Regions from separate parts of the Homo sapiens genome. Here all the other regions are linked to region 2. Evidence: promoter capture Hi-C in human tissues and cell types (Jung and others, 2019). All regions are on one chromosome and are shown on one strand. The core of a region is centred on a gene start or on the middle of the fragment in contact, and the rest is flanking DNA. Distances in the headings are between cores, read along the strand shown.

The links. The method cuts DNA at HindIII sites, captures the fragments that hold promoters and counts their contacts. A contact is called where the count stands out against the background at its distance.
Region 1: the fragment with the promoter of CLCF1 here is called in contact with the fragment with the promoter of NUDT8 in region 2 in 1 of the 25 tissues and cell types used here (heart left ventricle).
Region 3: a contact is called between a fragment that was not itself captured here and the fragment with the promoter of NUDT8 in region 2, in 5 of the 25 tissues and cell types used here (H1 embryonic stem cells, heart right ventricle, liver and 2 more).

Annotation. Positions count from the first base shown.
Region 1 is chr11:67,372,328-67,375,027 of GRCh38, reverse strand. It overlaps CLCF1 (cardiotrophin like cytokine factor 1), which reads left to right and starts at 1,430. Exons shown (of 3, transcript NM_013246.3): 1 at 1,430-1,504. The coding sequence starts at 1,489. All of the region lies in intron 2 of LOC100130987 (a long non-coding RNA gene), which reads right to left. RefSeq lists silencers at 1,092-1,141, 1,702-2,041. The HindIII fragment of the contact is 15,975 bases long and covers 1-2,700 here.
Region 2 is chr11:67,628,493-67,631,192 of GRCh38, reverse strand. It overlaps NUDT8 (nudix hydrolase 8), which reads left to right and starts at 1,256. Exons shown (of 4, transcript NM_001243750.2): 1 at 1,256-1,475; 2 at 2,142-2,274. The coding sequence starts at 1,282. RefSeq lists silencers at 334-503, 624-1,413, 1,704-1,853, 2,421-2,700. The HindIII fragment of the contact is 11,433 bases long and covers 1-2,700 here.
Region 3 is chr11:67,964,149-67,966,978 of GRCh38, reverse strand. It overlaps LOC112268076 (translation initiation factor IF-2-like), which reads left to right and starts at 819. Exons shown (of 4, transcript XM_047427952.1): 1 at 819-1,132; 2 at 2,470-2,507. The coding sequence starts at 819. The HindIII fragment of the contact is 4,449 bases long and covers 1-2,830 here.

The DNA.
Region 1 (2,700 bases), core at 181-2,680, 260 kb after region 2:
TCTCTGATGCCACTCCAGGGAGAGGCATCACCTTCCAGGTCTGGCCCACCACTGGCCTCTCCCACTTTGAAACAATAAATAAACAACAACAAAAGCAACTTATTACCCAGTGATTTAATTGGTGGTGTGGCTATAGGGCACCCAAGCCTTGGGGACCACATGACTCTCCCCCAGGAAAATCATGAAGCAGGGCAGTCCCCAGCCCTGGGTTAGAGCTGCCTCCTCTGAGCGTGTTCTCCCCGGCAGCCCTTGGAGAGGGAGGAGGGGACCCCCTCTGGGAGGGTCCAGGCATACCCCCAGGTATCCTGCCCAGCAAATCCCAACCCAGGCCTGCGGGAAGGAGGGGGAGCCCTCACCGCTAAGCCACCCCCACCTCACCACCGGAAAAACCAACAACCCGAAACCCCAAAGGAAGGAGAATGCCAGGGTCTTCATGGGGAAACATTTCACAAATGGGGACGCTCGGGCGGTCCATCGCCTTGAATCGGAGCATTCCCGCTGAGTCACCCAAGAAGCCTGTGGTGTTGAAACTGGTCCGTTGCCTCGTGCTGATTAATGAATTACAAATCCCCCACCCATGTACATTCTCCCTGGTCACTGGAGGAAGAATGAAGAACCTTGTGAACTTGAGGGAAAAAGTCCCGCCAAGTGGCCTCTTCTCGCCTCTGGGCCGGGCAGTGGGCCTGCAGTGCCCTCTTCCTCCCCCGCAGGGGGCATTGTGAGCTGGTTAGTCACCTGCCCCAGCCCCAGCGCCTCGCTTAGCTCTAGCTTTTGGAAATGGGACAAGCGGCGGGACAATAGGCAGGGGGGGCGGTCAGCCCAGACAAAGGGCAGCAGGAAAAACACCATCACTTGCTCCCAGGCCAGCTCGCTGGCATTTGGGAGAATGTGTCATTGCATTTACTCAAGGGGGAGGAGGAGGGAAGGTTAGAGATGAGGAGGCAGAGGTAGGGTGGGAGCAGGGACCTCGCACAGGCAGAGGTAGGTTGGATCAGGGACCCCGCATCGGCAGGGGACAGGGGGCAGGGGGCGGTGTCCCAGGCCAACGCCTGGGGAGAAGCCCACCCGAAGCCGGCGCTGTCCCCCGGCTCCTGGGAGTCCTCAGACGGACTGATGGCCTCCCCGCCCCCTCCCCCAGGAGGCCCAGGGTGGTACCGCCACAGCCTCGCCTCACCTCACCCCCCCTCGGTGCTGTGGGAGGGAGAGGGAGCCCCAGAAGCCCTCCCTTCCCTCCTCCCCCCTCCTACCCCCACCCCGGGGAGGGCCGCTACAATTTGTGGTTACAGCTTTACACGTCAGAAAAAAAAAAAAAAAGTTTGCAGAATGTCCCACACCGAAAAAAAAAAAAAATCCGAAACCGAGCGAAAAAAACCTGCGAGTGGGCCTGGCGGATGGGATTATTAAAGCTTCGCCGGAGCCGCGGCTCGCCCTCCCACTCCGCCAGCCTCCGGGAGAGGAGCCGCACCCGGCCGGCCCGGCCCCAGCCCCATGGACCTCCGAGCAGGTAGGAGCCAGGCGGCCGAGGCCCCGACCCCCGCCCCGCCAAGCAGCCACGAGATCCGGTTCCCGTCCTGCCCTGACCCCCGGGAGCCCCGCGCCGGGGCCGGGCCAGGGAGCTGGGCTCGGGCCGGGGGAGGCACGGCTGGGCGCCCTCGAGAGGGGCCGGGCGGGGACGCGGCATTCCTGGAGTCCGCACGGCGGGGCCAGGAGGTGGCCGGGAGCGGCGGGGAGCCCGGACGATCGCAGACCTGGGGAGGCGGCAACCTGGAGCCCCAGCGAGGCGGGCCGTAGGAGCCGCAGCCCCAGAGCCCCGCGCACCAGTCGGGGCCAGAGAGTCCGAGGCGGGGAGCGAGGCTGCGGGTGGGAGGAGGGGCTGGGAGAGGAAGAGGGAGGGAGGCCGGGGGAGCCCGAGGCCGGGCGGCGGGAGGCGAGGGGAGGCCGACACCTCGGGCCGCGCCGCTCTCCCTCCCCGGCCCGCCGGGAGGGGTAGGAGGGCGGGCGGGAGGAAGGGCGGGCGGCGGAGAGGAGGGCGGAGGGCAGCGCCGAGCCTGGCTGGGCCGGGCCGGACGGGCCGAGCCGCGCCGCGGGACTCGCGGCTTCCTAGCTACGCGCCGCGCGGCCGGAACCCTCCATGGTGCCCACGGCCGGGGAGCCGGCGGCAGGTAGGGGCGGCGGGCGGCGGCCGCGAGTCCCCCGGGCCACCGTGGCCTGGGAGTGATTATTGTTTGGCGGGGGGCTGGCGCAGCCGGGCCGGACCCGGCAGGAAAAAGTCTGTCACTGGCCAGGGAGCGGCGGGAGCAGCCGCTCAGCCCGGGCAGGAGGGGAGTTGACGCGCGGGAAAGGGCAGCGCCGGGCAGAGCCCGGAGCCCGGTGCCCCGGACCCCGCCCCCGCCCCCGCCCCCGCCCCCGCCGCGGGGAAGGAGCGACCGGGCGGGAGCGGGAGGGGGCGGGGCCGGGGGCGCCGAGGCCACACAGGGGGAAGGCGCAGCGCCGGGAGGGGTCCCAGAGCGAGAGGTCACCGCCAGCAGGGAGGGCCAGCTGGCAACCGCCGCCGTGCAGCTTCCCGGCCGAGCCCCTCGAAGGAAACCTTCGAAAGAGTCCCCGGGGCTCGCCAGAGGTCCCCTCATGCTTGCTCTCCCCACCCGCCTTCCTTTCCACAACTCCGTGCTGGGCTTCTGGAGCCCTCCCCACAGACCCTCC
Region 2 (2,700 bases), core at 7-2,506:
GTGCCGTCCGCATCCCTGGGAGCACACAGTAATATTAAAAGTGGTGACTCCAGCCCAGTGGCAGGGCTGCACTTGCCCAGATGAGGATCGAAACTGGCGCTCAGAGAGGCGCGGGACCTGCTCAACGTCACACAGCAGAGCATGGCGGACACCCGCCACCCCACGTTTAAATGCTGTGCGCAAGGCTGGGGTCATCTGGTCCCCAAGCCCAGGGTCTGGTGGAAGGGCGCAGAACCACGGTGGTCAGTGACCACAGGGGCCGAGGTAGGAAAGGGGGAGGGATTTGGGAATCCGGTCAAGACTCAAGGCAGGAAGGGAGAAGAGCTCTGGACGCTGGGACAAGGAGGTCAAAGGCCTGGGGCTGGAGTCCGACGGAGCCAGAGGGGAAGACAAGACTGGGGGCGGCGCGCGCCACCCAGCGGTATCGGGAGGGAGGACCGGAGGGAGGGCTGGGCCGGACGCTCCTCTCGCGCACCGATCGACCTCGGGTTCCTGGAGGGGCGTCCCCGTGGGATCCCGGCTCCGTACATCCTGGAGCCCCTAGGGGAGGGACGGACCAGTGGGGGCCGGCGGGGCCTCATCAGACACCCCAACGCCAGGACCCAACGGGACCGAGGACGGTCGCCGGGCGCTTCACGGTTCGCGTGGTTTCAGGATCTCGGAGAACACAACCGGCAGGTCCTGCAGCTCCGCGCCCATCTCCCTCCCCGCGGCCACACCCCCGGCCACGGCCCGGCCCTGCCGGAAGCACAGTCCTCCTGGCCACGCCCCCCAGTCCTTCGTAGCAAAAGCTCCGGTCCAGGCCCCGCCCCCAGCCCGCCCCAACCTCGATTGCCTACTAGGCCCCGCCGCCCTTTGGCAGTAACGTCCGAGTCCGGCTCCCGCGCAGGCCCCGCCCCGCCCCGCCCCGCCGCCCTCCGTCCCTCCCATCCGGGGGACTCAACGCGTCCCACCGAGGCCCCGCCTTCAAACAGGCCCCGCCCCCTAACGGACCCCGTCCCACCGAGGACCCGCCTTCAAACAGGCCCCGCCCCCGAACAGACCCAGTCCCACCGAGGCCCCGTCTCCGGGAAGGCCCCGCCCACGAACAGACCCACCCCACTGAGGCCCCCCGACGCCGCTGCCGCTCTGCAGCCCCCCAGGCGGGACGCGTCGCGCGGGCTGCCCCTTCTCCCTCTCAGCTTTCGGAGGGACCCGGGCTGAGCGCCCCGCCCCGCCTCGCCCCGCCTCTTCCCTCGCCCGATCCCGCGCCCTCAGTGTCCCGGCCGCGCAGGACTTGACATGCTGCCCGACTGCCTGTCGGCCGAGGGCGAGCTGCGCTGCCGCCGGCTGCTGGCAGGGGCCACGGCCCGGCTCCGCGCGCGGCCCGCGTCGGCCGCGGTGCTCGTGCCGCTCTGCTCAGTGCGTGGGGTCCCGGCGCTGCTGTACACGCTGCGGTCCAGCCGCCTGACCGGGAGGCACAAGGGCGACGTCAGGTACAGCGGCCGGGAACTCCTCGCCCTTTGCCGGAGGCTACAGGAGCCCGGGGCTGGCAGGGACCTCTGGCAGGGCACTTAGCCCCTTCGAGCCTCGGTTTCCGCCTCCGTAAAATGGGTCTGGGGAGAGTCCCTCCGCCCAAGGGCTGCAGCGAGAGGTCAGCGATCCGTGTCCGTCGGCCCCGGTGCACCTGCCGGGGCGCCACGTCCTCGCCGCGTGGGCCCCTCGTACGCGTCCTTGCGCGCACGCCTGGGCCGGGACACCCCTTTGAGCTGTTTCCCGCTTAGAGGGCGGACGCCGCCCCCTGCCGGCGACTACGGAGAGGTTCGGGCCCCGCCCGGCGGGAATTAAGAACATCCTGAGGACAATGTCAGTGTTGCTGGGGCCACCATAGGCCGAATTTGGGTATCTGAGCCCCAGGATCTTCTTGCCCCTGCTGCAGACCCTCTTATCCTGCGCTGTCCCGGGCCTCTCTTCCTTATCCCCATTGCTCAGGGAGGTAAACTGGCCTCCAGAGGTCGCATGGCTTGCCTGGGGCCTCCCAGTAAACTAGGGGCAGAGGCAGGCGACACTTCGGTGGGCCAGTGGCCCCCCCCGCACTGCCGATACCCCGACCTCTCCGTGGCCCCAAGAGTCCAAGGACCAGACTCCTTGTGTCTGTTTAGTTTCCCAGGCGGCAAGTGCGACCCGGCTGACCAAGATGTGGTGCACACGGCCCTGCGGGAAACCCGGGAGGAGCTGGGCCTGGCAGTGCCCGAGGAGCACGTGTGGGGCCTGCTGCGGCCTGTGTATGATCCGGTAAGCCACTTGGCTGAGGCCACCCCACCCCATTCACTCACTCTGTGCCTGCCCTGGAGCTGGGCTACCAGGGACCAGGAGAGTGGTCATGGACCCCCACGGGCACAAAGTGTGGAAGGGTGCCCCTAACCTGCCTGGTCACATGCACCACCCCACACACCCCCTCGGGAAGGGATTGGGGAGGCTCTGGTGTCCTGAGTAGAGGTGGCCCAGGGCGATGGGGTGGGCCAGCTCCACTCAGTTTGGTGGATTAGGGTCAGGGAAGCTTCATGGGGTAGGCAGGGATTGAACCCAGGCTTGAATGCCAAGTGGGAGATTGTCCTAAGCAGAGGGAACAGGTCTAGTGCATTTGAGGGGACCTGAGTCAGTCAGCATGGCTGGAGGACACAGGCAGGTGGACCCGAACATGACTACCAAAGGCCTATG
Region 3 (2,830 bases), core at 90-2,589, 340 kb before region 2:
TGACAAACTTTAGCCATTAGCTCACGTACTACTTTGGAAGGGCATACCTTCAGTCACTTCACCCTTTAATCCCTTTGCTCAAGACTAAAGTTCTGAGAGGAAGTCTAATCGGCTGAGTTGTGTCCATGTGGGCAGTGCAGCAAAGGGTGCAGCGGGAGGCGGCTCCAGGGACGTCTTTGGCTTCCATCATGGGGGAGCAGGTGCCTGGATTATCCACCCTAACAAATCTGGACAAAGGAAAACGAGGTTCTCTGAGGAAGGAGACATAGAGCCCAAGGAGCTAACCAAGAGACAAAGAGTCACCCTGTCTTGTCATTTTCTTTTACACATGTGTGTACATTATCTTACACTTATCACTTTGTTTTCTTTCTCTCCTTTAATTGCACCCTGTTGCCAAAAGTTAAAATAAAATGAAAGTATTGAGATAGCTCAGTAACTGACTTTTGGTCAATTGCCTTTTCATGTAGTGAACAGCTGCCCAAACGATTGTCTCTGTCACTGTGCAAATTTGCAAGCGTTTGCATGATCACTCCCAATCCCCCAACACAGGGCTGTGTTATAGCACAATTCAGTTCAGTGTTTTGCTCTCTGCAACAGGGAGGCTCTCATCCATTACAGGTTGCAGTAAAAACAGGGATACCATAAGCAACCACCTCTTTCCTCAACGATGTGATGAAAGCAAAAGCCAAGTAGCTCCATATATCCAACTTAAAAATATAAAAAGTTACGCCCGTGGGCTGCAGTTGGAGCTATGGCGGCAGCAGCTGTCACTGGGCCTAGCCTGGGGTGTGGACCTGGGGACTCCCCAGAAGGCCCCGATGTGGAGGCTCACGGAGCGTCGGCGGAAGGCGCACAGGATGCTAAAGCTTTACAACGGCCTCTCAGAAGGGGAAGCGGTGGGACTCCCTGCAGGGCCCGACCCCCTGGACCCCACTGATCTGAACGGGGCACACTTTGACCCGGAAGTTTACCTAGACAAGCTGCCTAGAGAGTCCCCTCTGGCCCAGCTGATGGACAGTGAGACGGACATGGTGCAGCAGATCCGGGCTCTAGACAGCGACATGCAAACCCTGGTCTATGAGAACTACGATAAGTTCATCCCAGCCACAGAAATGACAAACAGCATAAAACTGTATGAGGAATTGCAGGAGACCCGGAATTTCTCAAATAAACTTGTAAAAGAGGAACAAAGTTGGAAGACTCACAAAAAAAAAATACATACATACATACATATATATATATATATATATATATATATATATATATATATATATATATGAAAAGTTGTGTTTTCGTTCGGTTGTAAATGTTTAGTAATTTCTATTGAGATTTTTCATTTAACTCATGAAAGGATATTTTTAATTTTCCTAATGCATGCTTGTGTTTAGCTATCTTCTTGCTGTTGACTTCTAATTTTGTTGCATTATGGTCAGGAAAATGTGGTCTGGACAATGTCAATCGTATAGTGGATTTTGTTGAGACTTCTTTATGGCCTAATATGTGGCCAGTTGGTTTTTTTTGTTTGTTTGTTTTTTTGCTTTTTTTTTGGTTTTTTTTGCAAATTTGCCACATGTTGTTAAAAGGAATGTGGATTATTTGTTTTTTTTAGGAGAGTTTTTATTTTTAAATAGATAAGTTTCTCAGTGCAATTGAAATCTAGCTTCAATTAACAATATGCTAGATCTCTCAAACCTTAGGATGTTAGTCAGTGTTAACAATAGACTGCTGCTGAGATGAATAAACCCTGAACTCTCAGTGGGTTAGCACCCATAGCATAGTCTGGTGCAGGGCAGGGGTTCTCCTTGGGGGCCGTTGTCCAACAGTGATTCAGAGATTCTGGAGGTTTCCATCTTTTAATTCTGCCATCTCAGAGTTTTTCACTTGTAGCCATATGGATAGGAAGAGAGGGAACATAGCTCACACTTGCCTTTGATAACCTTGGCCTGAAGGGATTTCTTACATTCCTATTGGTGGAAATGCAGTCACATGGTTCCAAACTAACTGCAAGTAAGGCTGGGAAATGTAGTCTTTCTGCATGTCCAGGAAGAGGAATGGTGTGAACACAGCATTGTCTTTGACACACTAAGCATGTGCTAAAGAGTTCTTCCTCTTATAGGAGGTATGTCTGTCCTGTGCAACTTTCTCAGTTTTTGCTTAGATAGTTTCAGGCAATGTTGTTTGGTGCATTCAGCTTGATGATTGTTATGTCCTCTTGGCAAAGTAGTCAAGATTCCCATCAGTTTGAATGAAAGCGTTTTACAGATAGGTCAGGAAATGTTAATACTTTAAAAGGCCCTTCTATTCCTCCACTCTACAGATAAGAACAACAGAGTCCTAGAGAGAGGAGGTCATGGGTCTCACTCATGAGTGGCAGAATTGAAACCAACATGGCAGTAACTTTGCCTTTCCCCCATCATGTTGTTCTCCCTCTATCTTCACTCTGCTGATTTCTTCACTTGCTCCATGCAGACCTCCCAGTGCCAAGTCTATAAACGTGTCTGGAATTGGTGGGTTCTTGGTCTCACTGACTTCAAGAATGGAGCCGCAGACCCTCCTGGTGAGTGTTACAGTTCTTAAAGGTGGCGTGTCTGGAGTTTGTTCCTTCTGATGTTCAGATATGTTCGAAGCTTCTTCCTTCTGGTGGGGTTCGTGGTCTCGCTGGCTCAGGAGTGAAGCTGCAGACCTTCACGGTGAGTGTTACAGCTCTTAAGGCTGCATGTCTGGAGTTGTTCACTTCTCCCGGTGGGTTTATGGTCTTGCTGGCTTCAGAAGTGAAGCTGCAGACCTTCTCGGTGAGTGTTACAGCTCATAAAGGCAGTGTGGACCCAAA